Regions from separate parts of the Homo sapiens genome. Here regions 2, 3 and 4 are each linked to region 1. The links are contacts of gene promoters, found by promoter capture Hi-C in blood cells and fetal thymus (Javierre and others, 2016). All regions are on one chromosome and are shown on one strand. The core of a region is centred on a gene start or on the middle of the fragment in contact, and the rest is flanking DNA. Distances in the headings are between cores, read along the strand shown. Region 1 holds the start of DDIT4 (DNA damage inducible transcript 4). Region 2 has its middle 3.7 kb from the start of LINC03139. Region 3 has its middle 19 kb from the start of LINC03139. Region 4 overlaps PSAP (prosaposin).

Region 1 (3,178 bases), core at 103-2,602:
GTCCCTCAGCTCCTGCCTCTAGTCTCCACCCCAAAAGTTCAGTCGTCTCTGTCTTGGAGGGCACTGTCGGCCCCCTCAGGTTGAAGTTCAACACTCCTCAATGAGCAGCTGTTCCGAGCTGTACAGCTTCTTCTTGATGACTCGGAAGCCAGTGCTCAGCGTCAGGGACTGGCTGAAGCCAGGGAGGAAGGGAGAGTTGGCGGAGCTAAACAGCCCCTGGATCTTGGGCCAGAGTCGTGAGTCCAGGCGCAGCACGAGGGTCAGCTGGAAGGTGGGCACCAGGCTGGGGTCGAGTGCCAGCTGGCCCACGCTGTGGCAGCTCTTGCCCTGCTCCACGCAGACGTCCAGCAGCGCCCCCCGCAGGCCGCACGGCTCGCTGTAGGCCAGGCGCAGTAGTTCTTTGCCCACCTGGCTTACCAACTGGCTAGGCATCAGCAGGCGCGCAGGGCGTCGAGAGCCCAGCCGCGCCTGGGCCAGGCTCTCCTGCAGCAGCTGCATCAGGTTGGCACACAAGTGTTCATCCTCAGGGTCACTGAGCAGCTCGAAGTCGGGCAACGACACCCCATCCAGGTAAGCCGTGTCTGGAAAGGAGAGCACACAGGAAGGGGTATTAGAGCGGCTTCAAAACGAAACGCACAGGCGGGGGAGGTGCTGTTTCCTTAAGAAACCAACGCTCCTTCCCACTCCGTGCCTCAGTTTCCGCCTCACTCACCTTATACTCCAATTCCCCCTGCCCCCAAGCAATCTGGGTCCCGATGGGATAGGAAGCCAAGGCGGCTCTGACCCCTTCCAGCACCGGGGCTTCCCCACCTTCCCGGCCCCTCGAGTCGCGTCGGCACCCGCCCACCGCTCACCTTCCTCCGGCCCGAAGCCACTGTTGCTGCTGTCCAGGGACTCGCAGTCCGAGCTCTCCAGGCTCGTGGAGCGGTCAAACCCCTCCTCCCGGGTCGCCGACCCCCAGGCTGAGCGCGGCGGCCGATCTGGGGTGGGAGTTCGGGGCAAGGACGAGGGCGAAGAGGAGGTGGACGACGACGAGAAGCGGTCCCAAAGGCTAGGCATGGTGAGGACAGACGCCAGGGCGTTTGCTGATGAACTCAGAGTGCCGGAGCGTAGAAGCCGCTGTAAGACAAGAGGGGGACCGACCAGGCGTCAGTCTGGGGACCAGACCAGACCAGACCGCGAGCTCTAGGACCCACACACAGAAGGGACACTCACCAGCTAGCGCGGTCAGCGAGAACTGCTAAGACAAGTGCGTCCTGCCGCTTGAATGGGTGTGCGAACCCGTGCCAACCACCGAGAGCCGCCCAGACCCGTCCCAGGTCCACGCTCGCACCTCCCCCTTGGCCTGCTGCGCCCTAGCACCAGCGCGGAGCAGCCTATAAGGACTAGCGCGGCGAGGCCACGCCTTCTCTGCGCCACGACCCAATCCAGACCCGGGAGTGTGGCCCGCCTTGGCCAATGGACTCCGGGCGCACGTAAGCAACGTTCTCTCCTGCCCGGTGACAGCGGCCGGGCCCCGCCTCCATTGAGCCCCAGAAAGCTCGCAGTCGAACCCCGACCCACCGCCACGCCCCCTTTCTGGAAAGGATCCGCGGCGGCTGCAGCTGCCAAGGTCCCCGAGGGCGCTCGCGGCAGGGGAGGATCAAGGAAAGACTTGTTTATTATAGGGTTGCATTGCTGGAGGAGGGGACAGCCCGTGACCAGGCTAGGAGGAGAGGCAGGGAAGCGTGAGGGGGCGGCGGGCAAGGAAAATGGTTGCCCCCAGCGTCTTGGATCCTAAAGCTTCGGGAACAACTGGGCACACACGGGGGGGATGCCCGTGGGACGGCGGCGCAGGAGCAGACGTTAGCCCGGCCTGCCCTCGCGCCCTTACCCCCTCTATCCCTGCTTTGCAAAGGCTCGGGATATGGGGGTGGGGTCCACAGACTGGGAAGCTCCGGGCACCATGCTGCCCCTTCCCCAAGGCCCCACCTGCCCATCCTGGCTGTTACTCTACAGCCCAGGACATAGGTTAATGGGGATCCCTGCCTCCTCCCAAACCCTATCTGCTTCCACTTCCAACTGCTCCCAAGGAGAGGGCTTGAGGAGAGTGGTTAGAGGAGTGTGGATGGGCCCGGGTTCATAGCGCCCAGTGCAGGGATGGAAGCGAGGATTCACAGCAGTCGGACTCACAGACCCATCCGCCCTCCCCGCGGACTGCAGGCAGCGCAGCCGGACCTCCCTGCCCGGGCGCCCCCCGGGTCCTAGCACCCAGCGCTCGCCTAGCGCTTTGTGTAAAAGATCCAGACGGTTGCATCAGGACCGAGGACCGAGATCTCTGGAAAAGCCAGGGAGTGCAATGGCCATCCCGTGTTTCATCATTCAGGCGGGGCCACAGGAAATCTGGCCTGGCAGCAGTGCTCAGAGGCTAACAGTGGTTGCTGAGGGTGGGTGGAGGTTGAGACGGACTCGACCTTTATTGCTCTAAAGGTTTATCAGTCTGGGACAGGAGGACCCTGATGGAAGAGGGAGCCAAACTTACATCAGATGCCCAGGGCCCCGGGGGCGGGCAAGGAACCTAACCAGATAGGCGGGCCTTGCCTCGGGTCAGGCTTGCTTTCGCGTGACAAATGACACTTGCAGGAGATGTCAGGCCACTGCCCTCCGCAACCCCCATCCCCACCCCAACTTAGAAAAAAGAAAAAGCTGACACTTGGGCCAAGACTTAGAACCTGAAAGAACCAGAATCCAAGCTCTGCACCCTACTCTCATTTGACAGGTGGGAGACCCACTTATGGAGACAAATTTATGGATTAAAAAAAGAAATCAGGGGATCCAGGAGACATCTTAAAGACAGCTGCAGAATGGAATAGTTTGTGAGCCACTGGGACTTTCAAGGCCTTCTCTTCCCATTCTTCAAGCTCTGTCGCTTGTTGGAGCCTTAAAGACACCAGATTGCTTAACAATGGGGATATAAAAATTAAAAATAATAAAAGACACTGGATCAAGGCGGCTAGTTGTTCTTGGAGGGCTGGAGTAGATGACATACTCTTGAAATCACTCTTACAGAGGTGACCTGCATGGGTGTGTCTTCCTGCTGGCCAGAGAGAAGATCTGAATTAATCCATCAGGAACATTCACATTTCCTCCAGGCTGATTTGGGCGGGACACCTAAACACCCTAAGGAAACAAGAGTTAC
Region 2 (3,554 bases), core at 1,036-3,535, 390 kb after region 1:
CAAATGGCCCTCTGATTGGGCCTATAACATGTTGTGACTGTCTTGATTTTCTTAACAGCTTTCTTATTGTCAGACATTTGGCTCATCTCCAGTCTTTTACCATTGAACTAATGCCCTGATCAGCATCTCTGTATGAGTGTTTTCCTGGCCATAGGCCTTAGGACGCATTCCCAGCTGTTAAATTACTGGGCTAACGGAAAGGAACACATTTGAGTCCCTGACTCCTCATTGCCAAATTGCATTCTGCGCAGGTGGAGCCGTGGTGCCCCTCGAAAGATAATTTTTCTTTCGTTTTCTAGTAAGTCCAGTTGCTTTTCTGAATCTTCTTCCTGCAAACAGACTCAGTTTTCCCTGCTTCTGTCCTCCTTCCCCGTGGTTTAATGGACAGAGAAGGTCCTGTGGGTTCAACTCATAGCTGGGTCTAAGGCTGGCTATGTAGCTTTGGGAAAATCACTTGCCCTCCCTGGGCCTCCTCCATGTCTCTCCTCTAGCTCTTGCCTTCCTTCCCACGTGGCTTGAAAGATAATGTGCCTGACTTTGCCTTCCAGAGGTCAGATGGGGTTGGATAGTACTGTTATCTTTCTTCTCCAGGATAGCAGCAAACCTTTCCCTCCAAGTTTTCCTCCAGAGATCTGGCAAGAAATGTTCCCTTCGTTTGTAAGGAAGGCCTTCTGGTTTCCTACCTGGCACCATGGAGTGGAAAGGTGACCTTTCCTAGAACATCTCCCCAAGGCCAGCCTTCTCCCAAGAGAAAGAAAACAGGGCCTGTTGGCTCACGGTTCGTTCTGTTTTCCCTTCCTTGAAAATCAGGGTAGAGAAGCTCCAAGTAACTTTCCTCCTCCTTGGCCTGCCCAGAGGCCAAACAAGATTGTTACTGAAGACTCAGGGAGGCTGGGCATGATGGCTCACACCTGTAATCCCAGCACTTTGAGAGGCTGAGGTGAGTGGATCACAAGGTCAGGAGTTCAAGACCAGCCTGGCCAACGTGGTGAAACCCCGTCTCTACTAAAAATACAAAAATTAGCCAGGAATGGTGGCAGCCACCTGTAATCCCAGCTGCTTGGGAGGCTGAGGCAGAAAATTGCTTGAACCCAGAGGCGGAGGTTGCAGTGAGCTCAGATCGTGCCACTGCACTCCAGTCTAAAAAAAAAAAAAAAATTGCCGGGCATGGTACTGGGTGCCTGTAATCCCAGCTACTCAGGGGGCTGAGACTGGAGAATCGTTTGAACCCAGGAGGCAGAGGTTGCAGTGAGCCGAGATTGCACCTGGGTGACAGAGTGAGACTCTATCTCAAAAAAAAAGACTCAGGGAAACAGCACTAGAAACCCTGGATTCACCCATTCCCACATGCATGGGAAGGAGAGAAAAGACATCATCTTTGTTCATCCCTCACAAGTTCGTGATTGAGGCATTCTCCTCAAACAAAAGATAGATTGACAAGAAAAAGAAGCAATTTTATTTTTAACACGTGCTATGCCCATCATGTGGGAGAAACCTCAGTTCAAAAATATCTTTTGAAGGCTGGGCACAGTGGCTCACACCTGTAATCCTAGCATTTTGGGAGGCTGAGGCGGGGGAATCACTTGAGGCCTGGAGTTTGAGACCAGCCTGGGCAACATAGCAAGACCTTCGTCTCTACAAAAAAATTTACAGTTAGCTGGGCATGGTGGCTCAAACCTGTAGTCCCAGCCACTTGGGGGCAGGATCGATTGAGCCCCAGAGGTCAAAGCTGCAGTGAGCCTAGATTATGCCACTGCACTCCACCCTAGGTGACATATCAGGACCCTGTCACACACACACACACAAAGGCCGGGCACAGTGGCTCATGCCTGTAATCCCAGCTACTCGGGAGGCCAAGGCGGGTGGATCACCTGAGGTCAGGAGTTTGAGACCAGACTGACCAATATGGTGAAACCCTGTCTCTACTAAAAATACAGAATTGGACTCACACCTGTAATCCCAGCTACTCGGAAGGCTGAGGCAGGAGAATTGCTTGAACCTGGGAGGCAGAGGTTGCAGTGAGCCAGGATCGTGCCATTGCACTCCAGCCTGGGTGACAGAGCAAGACTGTCTCAAAAAAACAAAACAGAACAAAACAAAACAAAAAAATGTCAAGGAGGCATATTTTAGGGGTGGAATACTCTGGTTTCCTTCAAATGTATCAGTTCATTGTTACATTTATTCATGAAATAATTTGCTTAGTCACCTATTTAACTAGGGTTCCTGAAGGCCTTCTGTGGGGTGCCTGGCTTGGTGCCCTTGAGATGTGCCTGGGAGCCAGCTTCTGCCCCTTAGCATCACATGCTGAGGGAGGCATTGTGAGACAGTCATGGCTTCCCCTTCAGGCCTGCTGAGCTCTGCATGGCCCGGCTCACTTCCACCTCATGCCCAGCTCAGCCCTCCTTCTGCCAGACACATGTGCACCCAGGACTCTGCCTGGAAGATGAGCTCTGTGCCCCACCCCTCTGCCAGGCTGACTCTTGCCTATGCTTGGGTCTCAGCTCAGATCCGCCTGCTCCCAGAAGCCTTCTACGGCTGCCCAATTCTGGACTGGGTGGCTTCCGAGGCAGCCCCTCCCTTTAAATCTGACCACATGCCCTGTGGTCTCTGCCCCTTCTCTTGTAGGTCCCCCCCCCACCCCTGACCGCAGACTGTAACCTCTGGAGGGCAGAGATGGTATCTGTCTCATTAAGCCTTGGATCTGTTTTATCCCAAACAGTGTTCAGCATGCCCTAGGTGCCCAGTAAACACATGGGGAGAGGGGTGAAAGGTGTAAGGATTGCTGGGAGCAGCAGGCAATGTGCAGCGTAGCTCTCTGAAAGATACAGACCTCAGAAATGCTGCAGGAGCCCGGTGGGGCTGGGATGATGAGAGGAGACCTCCAGGATGCAGGGGGCATGCGCTGGCCTTGCAGAGTAAACAGGCACCAGACGAGCCGAGGGGAGGAGAGGCACTCGGGTGAGGCAAGCGGCATGAGCAAAGCACAGACGGTACACAGCATGGTGTGTACACATGAGCCAGTATTGGCTGGAGTAGAGGCATGGGCAGGGAGGTCCATGGGACAGGTGGGCATTGCAGGTTGAGGTCACTGGGGCAGAATGTTGTGGGAGCATGCTGGAGAGGTGGAGAGGTGGAGGGGAGAAGGAGAATAGAGCATTGACTGCCAGGGAGATGAATTTGGCATTGATCCCATGGGCATTAGAGAGCCAAAAGAGACTCTATCTCTGTTTTTTGTTTTTTTTTTTTTTCTTTCTTTTTTCTTTTTTTGAGACAGGGTTTCACTGTTGTTGCCCAGGCTGGAGTGCAGTGGTGCAATCTCAGCTCACTGCAACCTCCTCCTCCCAGGTTCAAGCGATTCTCCTGCCTCAGCCTCCCAAGTAGCTGGGATTACAGGTGCCCGCCACCACGCCTGGCTAATTTTTATATTTTTAGTAGAGATGGGGTTTCACCATGTTGGTGAGGCTGGTCTCAAACTCCTGACCTGAGGTGATGCACCTGCCTCGGCCTCCCAAAGTGCTGGGATTATAGGTGTGAGCCACCTTGCCTGGCCGAGA
Region 3 (3,502 bases), core at 206-2,705, 380 kb after region 1:
CTGAACTCTTCAATGCCCAGACACCGAAGAACATCTGCTAGCAGCATGACCCAGGAAAACATGACCTCCCCAAATGAACCAAATTAGACACCAGGGACCAATCCTGGAGAAACAGAGCTCTGACCTTTCAGACAGAATTCTGTTTGAGGAAACTCAAAGAAATTCAAAATAACACAGAGAAGGAATTCAGAATTCTATCAGATACATTTAACAAAGGGATTGAAATAATTAAAAAACATCCAGAGCAGAATTTCTGGAGCTGAAAAATGCAATTGGCATACTGAAGAATGCATCAGAGTCCTTTAATAGCAGAATTGGGCTGGGCGCAGTGGCTCATGCCTGTAATCCCAGCACCTTGGGAGGCCGAGATGGGTGAATCACCTGAGGTCAGGAGTTGGAGACCAGCCTGGCCAACATGGTGAAACTCCGTCTCTACTAAAATTGCAAAAATTAGTTGGGCATGGTGGTGGGCACCTGTAATCCCAGCTGCTCGGGAGGCTGAGGCAAGAGAATCGCTTGAACCTGGGAGGTGGAGGTTGCAGTGAGCTGAGATCTGGCCACTGCATTCCAGCCTGGGCAAGAGAGTGAGACTAAACAACAAAAAGTTAAAAAGTTGCCAAGACAGTATTAAATTGAAACAAAAATCAAGAAGCTTTTAAAAACAAAGTTAAAAAGCAGGAGATGCTGGGCACCATGGCTCATGGCTGGAATGACAATACATTAGGGGGCCGAAATGAGAGGATCACTTGAGCTTGGGAGCTTGAGACCAGACTGGGCAACATGGTGAGATCCCCATCTCTACAAAAAAAAAAAAAAAAACCCCAAAAAACAAAAAAAACAAAAAAAACTTAGTCGGATGTGGTGGCACATGTTTGTAGTCTGTGGTGGAAGGTGAGCCATGATTGTGCCACTGCATGCACACCAGCCTGGGTAACAGACTGAGACTCTGTTTCAAAAAAAAAAAAAAAAAAATGCGAGGGGACTAAGTTAAGAGGTAGTTTTGTTTGTTTGTTTTGTTTTGAGACAGAGTCTTGCTCTGTCAGCCAGGCTGGAGAGCAGTGGCACAATCTCGGCTCACTACAATCTCGGCTCACTGCAACCTCTGTCTCCCAGGCTCAAGCTATTGTCCTCCCTCAGCCTCCTGAGTAGCTGGGATTACAGACACGTGCCACCATGCCCAGCTAAGTTTTGTATTTTTAGTATAGATGGGGATTCACCATGTTGTCCATGCTGGCCTCGAACTCCTGACCTCAAGTGATCTGCCTGCCTTGGCCTCTCAAAGTGCTGGGATTACAGGCATGAACCACCATGCCCAGCCAGGAATCACATTTCAACATGAGATTTGGAGGACAAACGTCCAAACCGTATCAACCTTTATGCTTCTTTTTGGCTTCCAGGAAAAACAAGACCCCTCTCTCAGGTGCCCTTAAAGAACCCCATCCTTTTTCACAGCATCTAACCAAACTTTGGTTTTTTGAGACTAAATTTTTTTTGTTCCCTCACCAAATTATAAGTCCCATGTGGGCAGGACCTGGGCCCCTTTTGCTTCTCACTGTGTCCTCAGTGACTAGGACAGTGCCTGGCACTTTGCAGGTGCTCAAACATCTTTTCTTGGTTACATGAAAGAGTGAATGGCTTTTTTGAGCACCTACTAGAGATTAAAAGTTTTATAGATGTCAAGTTTTCCTAAAGCCAAGCACAGTGGTGGCCCGGTTTGGCACTCAATAACTTACTGAGTCCTTGCCACCCAGGTCTGCGTTCTGTCTCTCTGGGTTTAGGGGTCTGGGATGTGGCCTTCCCTAGGGCTGCTATGAGTTGCTGTGGAGGCAGAGAAGACAAGGCTTAGCCTGCTAGCTGGAGCACTTCAGGCATCATTACTGTGGGCAGCTCTGTGAGGTCACTCCTGCCCCAATCCCTGGGCACCCGGCTGAGTGTGAGGCTTTGAGGACCAACCTAGAGATTAGGAACAGGGTTTTAGGCCAGGCATGGTGGCTCATGCCCATAATTCCAGCACTTTGAGAGACCAAGGTGAGAGGGTCACTTGACCCGAGGAGTCGGGGATCAGCCTGGGCAACATAGTGAGTCCCCTTAGCTACACTTAAATTTAAAAAAATAGAAAAGAAGGAACAGAAAATAGAAAAGAAGCAAATAGAAATAGAAAAGAAAAAGAAAAGCAAGTATAATAGAAATAGAAAAGAAGCAAATACTGTATTCTTCTGCCGTCTCATGGTCAGTCCTAGAATAGCAAGGGAAGCTTCCCCACCTCTCTGGTACTATACTGGGAGTGACCGCCAGAGGGCAGTGTTCTCCACATTGTTGCACCCAATAGGTGTCCCACCACACAAACCCAGCTCTTTAAAAAGTAGATTTTTTTCTTATCCAAAGTCGATTCATACAAAAAGAAAAAGAAATAAAAAATAAATTATTTTAATGGCTTCATTGCTACATGTTTGTTTTTTTGAAAAGGAGTCTTGCTCTGTCGCCCAGGCTGGAGTGCAGGGGGGTGATCTCCCCTCACTGCAACCTCCGCCCCCTGGTTTCAAGCGATTCTCCTGCCTCAGCCTCCGAGTAGCTGGGTTTACAGGCATGAGCCACCACGCCCGGCTAATTTTTGTATTTTTAGTAGAGACAGAGTTTCACCATGTTGGCCAGGCTGTTCTTGAACTCCTGACCTCAAGTGATCTGCCCACCTTGGCCTCCCAAAGTGCTGGGATTACAGGCGCGAGACACCGAGCCCAGCCCTCATCTCTATTTTAAATTATAAAAAAATTTTTAAAAGAATTATTGAGGACCCAGATATTTATTAATTTATCAAAAAGTAATAATGAACTCATTACATGTAAACATAAACATATTTTTACGAAAAATACCTTCATTTCCAAAACAAAGAGAAATTTAGTGAGAAAAACAGCATTGTTTTACACTTTTGCAAATCTCTCAAGCAACTGTCTTAATTAAAGACTGTTGGAGCCTCATGTCTACTTCTGCATTCAGTCTGTTGCAATATGTTGGGGCTTTTAAAATTTTTATTTATTTTTTTATTTTGAAACAAAGTTTTGCCCTTGTCGCCCAGCCTGGAGTGTAATGTTGTGATCTTGGCTCACTGCATCCTCCACCTCCCAGGTTCAGGTGATTCTCCTGCCTCAGCCTCCCGAGTAGCTGGGATTACAGGAGTGCGCCACCACATCCAGCTAATTTTTTTGTATTTTTAGTAGAGATGGGGTTTCACCATGTTGGCCAGTCTGGTCTTGAACGCCTGACCTCAGGTGACCCGCCCACCTCAGCCTCCCAAACTGCTGGGATTATAAGCATGAACCACTGCGTCCCGCAATATATTGTTTTGATTGAAGAAAATCCAGCCTCCCGCAAACACGGAGTTGGAAAAAAAGACGAGTATTTTGATAGCTTTTTCAGATAATTGTGAATATTCTTCTTTAATGCTACGCCAAAACTTAACAAGCAATTGTTTCTTTAAGGTTGATTATAATGTAGAATCTGAACC
Region 4 (3,442 bases), core at 79-2,578, 430 kb after region 1:
AGGACTCTGTTGCCTTCTCCGTGTAGATAATGTCCTGCCCTGGAATCATCTGGCTTGTAAGGAAAATTAAGAAGCGAGGCTGTAGCAGCAGAGGAGAAGCAGGGAAGAAAGGACCTTTGTCTTAACACTTTGAGGCCAGAGGTGATGGGATGTCAGCCTAGTGAGCTTAAGAGCTTTATTGCCACTGATTTCTTATGTGATATGAGGACTCTTGGACCTTAACTCCTCCAAATCAAGGGAGACTACCTCTGAGCGTATACTATTCTGAATGATTCAGTGAGCTGTGTTTTTATTCTGCTCTGCAGACTGTTTTCCAAAGGCAGGATTATCTATGAGGAAGAGACAAGTGCTCTTTGCCATAGAAGATATTTGTGGCAATAGCTGTTTGAGTAGCTAGTGTTGAGTGCATTGCATTATCTCCTGCTCTTAGGGGATGGAAGTGCATGAATTCCTCTGAGAAATGCCCTGCGGTAGAAGCCGCTCCTCCAGGGGTTATCCTCTCTTGGTTTCCTAGCAACCTGCCTGTTGCCATGGTGCCGCCTTACCCAGGCAGCAGATCTGCTGCCCTGTGGAATGTAGGCTCTGATTGTCAGCACTGGGAGGCTGCATGCATTTTCTGTTACCTCTTTTTTTTTTTTCTGGTAGCTAGATTCAAATTGTACTTAGCATGTTACTAAAATATTTAAAAGGAAAAGCATATGTTGTATGGCTAAAATAATGAGACTGATTGTTTTATCACATTCTAGGAAATGTTGTCCTGTCATTTTAAGATTGCTTCAGAAAATCTTTGGTGATTATGTTGTGTACTGGGCTTTTCGGTATCCTCACTGGGGTAAGCCAGGAAACACTTGTTGGGAGACCTTTCTGTAAGCGAGGTCGTTGATTAAGTATGTATATTAGTTGGGCTTAGGTTTGACTGTAAACAACAAATACATAGAATAATAATGGCTTATTTGTTTTTCTTATTTTTGATGGAGTCTCGCTCTGTCGCCCAGGCAGGAGTGCAGTGGCGTGATCTCGGCTTACTACAACCTCTGCCTCCTGAGTTCAAGCGATTCTCCTGCCTCAGCCTCCTGAGTAGCTGGGATTACAGGCACCTGCCACCACACCCAGCTAATTTTTGTATTTTTTGTAGAAATGGGGTTTTGTCGTGTTGCCAGGCTGGTCTTGATTTGTGAGCTCAAAATGATTCTCCTGCCTCAGCTTCCCAAAGTACTGGGGTTACAGGCATGAGCCACCGCACATGGCCCTGAAATCTATGTCTTTAAAAAAGTCCCATTGTGGGGCCAAGCATGGTGGCTCACGCTTGTAATCCTAGCACTTTGGGAGGCCGAGGCGGGTGGATCACGAGGTCAGGAGTTCGAAACCAGCCTGGCCAACACGGCAAAACCCTGTCTCTACTAAAAATACAAAAATTAGCTGGGCATGGTGGCAGGCGCCTATAATCTCAGCTAGTTGGGAGGCTGAGGCAGGAGAATCGCTTGAACCCGGGAAGTGGAGGCTGCAGTAAGCCGAGATCGTGCCACTGCACTCCAGCCTGGGCGACAAGAGCAAGACTCTGTCTCAAAAGAAAAAAAAAAGAGCCCGTTGTTCCAAGCTGTCTTGCCAGGCCCTTGAACTAAGAAGTGAAGTGCTCAATTTGCCCCGAGTGCTGTTCATGTCTTTATGACACATTTAATTGGAAATCTTTAGGAGGTCAAACATTCTAAGAACTTTTTTGGAGTTCAGCATACTGCCTCAGAGAAGGAAGCTGGTATTTGGGGGTAGGGTGTGGGAGGATGAGAATAGAGATTAAAGGCTTTGCTGGCCACATGTTTTGAGAAATAACTCACGAGAAAGTGTTTTTGGGTAGTGTTTATTTATTAGTTATAAATGCTGAAAATGTTATCTGCCTTGTTAGAGTGAAGACTTGGAGCTCCTCGGAGCTCTTTTAGTTCAGCCCACCACTGAAAGGATCCCTCTTATATAGAATTGCTCATAAGTTATGCATTTTGTTTCTGCTTGTTTGCTTCCACTGTTGGTGAGGTCATCACCTAATGATGCCACTCATTCTCTCTTTTTTTTCTGAGACAGGCTCTGGCTTTATTGCCCAGGCTGGAGTGCAGTGGTGCTGGGGCACTGGAGTGCAACCTCCGCCTCCTGGGCTCAATCGATCCTCCCACCTCAGCCTCCTTGGTAGCTGGGACTACTGAGGCGTGCACCACCACGTCCAGCTAATCCGTTCTCTTTTTATGCCCCTGGGTGGATGTTAAATGCATTCTTTACCTGGAGCTGTGGTCTGCTTCCTTGCACCCATTGTTCAGAGATCTGTGGTCTGGAGCCACTCATACCAGCTCCACACCCTGGTGGAAGGTGTACGGGATTCTCCCCCTCCTTGGAGATGACCGCGTGTCTCTGAAACATTCCTTCTCCCGTCACTCATCCCCAGTCCTCCAGGGGACTCTCTGGGTGGGGCCCCAGGCCCTCCCCTCCCTGGCCTCTGCTGAGCAGCTCACGTTGCTCATGGGCGTGTCTCTCCTGGTGCTATTGGCCCTTGCTGTTCTGTTTTCCCTTTGAGTCTGCACAACTTCTCATGGAACCCTGTTAGTGCCATTTGCCCATCTTGTTCTCTTGGACTCTGTGTTAGCCTCTCTTGGCTCTTGCTGCTTCCATTTCTCATGTGGACGTTTTTGAATTCGCCTTCCAGTTAGGTGCCTGACATTGGTATCTCCCACCTCCTCTTCAGTTCTGCCACCTTGTGCCTGGGTGGTTGAGACCCACACATGAGCTTGCCTGTCCTGTCCCTCCCAGAAATCCCTGAAGCTTCCTGCAGTATCGCCCACGGGGTTGAGCCCTCACCTTAGGGTGTGTGGGGCAGGTGAGACCATTCCCCCAAGCACCTGAGATCTGTCTGCCTTTGCAGCCTGGCTGCCGCTACTTCCCTTGGCTTCGCTCCTGAAAAGACAGGACAGTTTCTTCCCTTCCCCACAGAGAACTGGACTCCTTTGGAATGTTCTGGAATTCCCCACTCCCTCTCCACGTAGCCAGCCTTTTCTGTCACCATCTTGCAGGTGCCAATTCCAATTTCGTTTTGAGGAAGGCTCCGTTAGCATTGCCTTGCCGCTCCCATTCCCACCGATGCGTGGGATCACACACCATTACTTAGATGTCTGTTCCTCCTGCTCTTTGGGGTAAAGAAAATCGTGACTGTTCATTTGTTCTTTGGCCTGAGGGCCTCGGGCTCTGCGCAGTCAGTGGAGCTGGTAGCCATGCCTTCAGCTGGGTTGTTTACCTGCTTGTGTGGAGAAAAACCACCCTTGCCTGTAGAGCTTTATGATTAATCCACAGCTGGGACCTGAGAAGTTCCTCAAGTGCTAGGAGAAATGTGTGTGTAATAAAGTTTCTGGGAAAGGGATCCATGTCCCCAAAAGGTTCTGACCCACTGTTTGATCCCCTCTTAGGA

Evidence for each region. The method cuts DNA at HindIII sites, captures the fragments that hold promoters and counts their contacts. A CHiCAGO score of 5 or more calls a contact.
Region 2: a contact is called between a fragment that was not itself captured here and the fragment with the promoter of DDIT4 in region 1, in 1 of 17 cell types (fetal thymus). The highest score is 6.7, in fetal thymus.
Region 3: a fragment that was not itself captured here is called in contact with the fragment with the promoter of DDIT4 in region 1 in 5 of 17 cell types (fetal thymus, total B cells, naive CD4 T cells and 2 more); the score reaches 9.0 in fetal thymus.
Region 4: a contact is called between a fragment that was not itself captured here and the fragment with the promoter of DDIT4 in region 1, in 1 of 17 cell types (total B cells). The highest score is 5.0, in total B cells.

What each region holds. Positions count from the first base shown.
Region 1 is chr10:72,272,098-72,275,275 of GRCh38, reverse strand. DDIT4 (DNA damage inducible transcript 4) reads right to left here and starts at 1,352. Exons shown (of 3, transcript NM_019058.4): 1 at 1,216-1,352; 2 at 855-1,119; 3 at 1-581. The coding sequence starts at 1,059. The coding sequence ends at 88. It overlaps DDIT4-AS1 (DDIT4 antisense RNA 1), which reads left to right and starts at 1,565. Exons shown (of 2, transcript NR_186445.1): 1 at 1,565-2,426; 2 at 2,759-3,178. RefSeq lists enhancers at 978-1,097, 1,808-2,331, 2,332-2,855. The HindIII fragment of the contact is 3,971 bases long and covers 1-1,784 here.
Region 2 is chr10:71,880,024-71,883,577 of GRCh38, reverse strand. No RefSeq gene overlaps it. Among named protein-coding and RNA genes, the nearest start is that of LINC03139, 3.7 kb to the right of the region's middle. The HindIII fragment of the contact is 6,930 bases long and covers 1-3,554 here.
Region 3 is chr10:71,895,361-71,898,862 of GRCh38, reverse strand. No RefSeq gene overlaps it. Among named protein-coding and RNA genes, the nearest start is that of LINC03139, 19 kb to the right of the region's middle. The HindIII fragment of the contact is 1,602 bases long and covers 655-2,256 here.
Region 4 is chr10:71,837,380-71,840,821 of GRCh38, reverse strand. The region is part of intron 1 of PSAP (prosaposin); the gene reads left to right. Among named protein-coding and RNA genes, the nearest start is that of PSAP, 12 kb to the left of the region's middle. RefSeq lists enhancers at 1,868-2,636, 3,407-3,442. The HindIII fragment of the contact is 2,953 bases long and covers 1-2,804 here.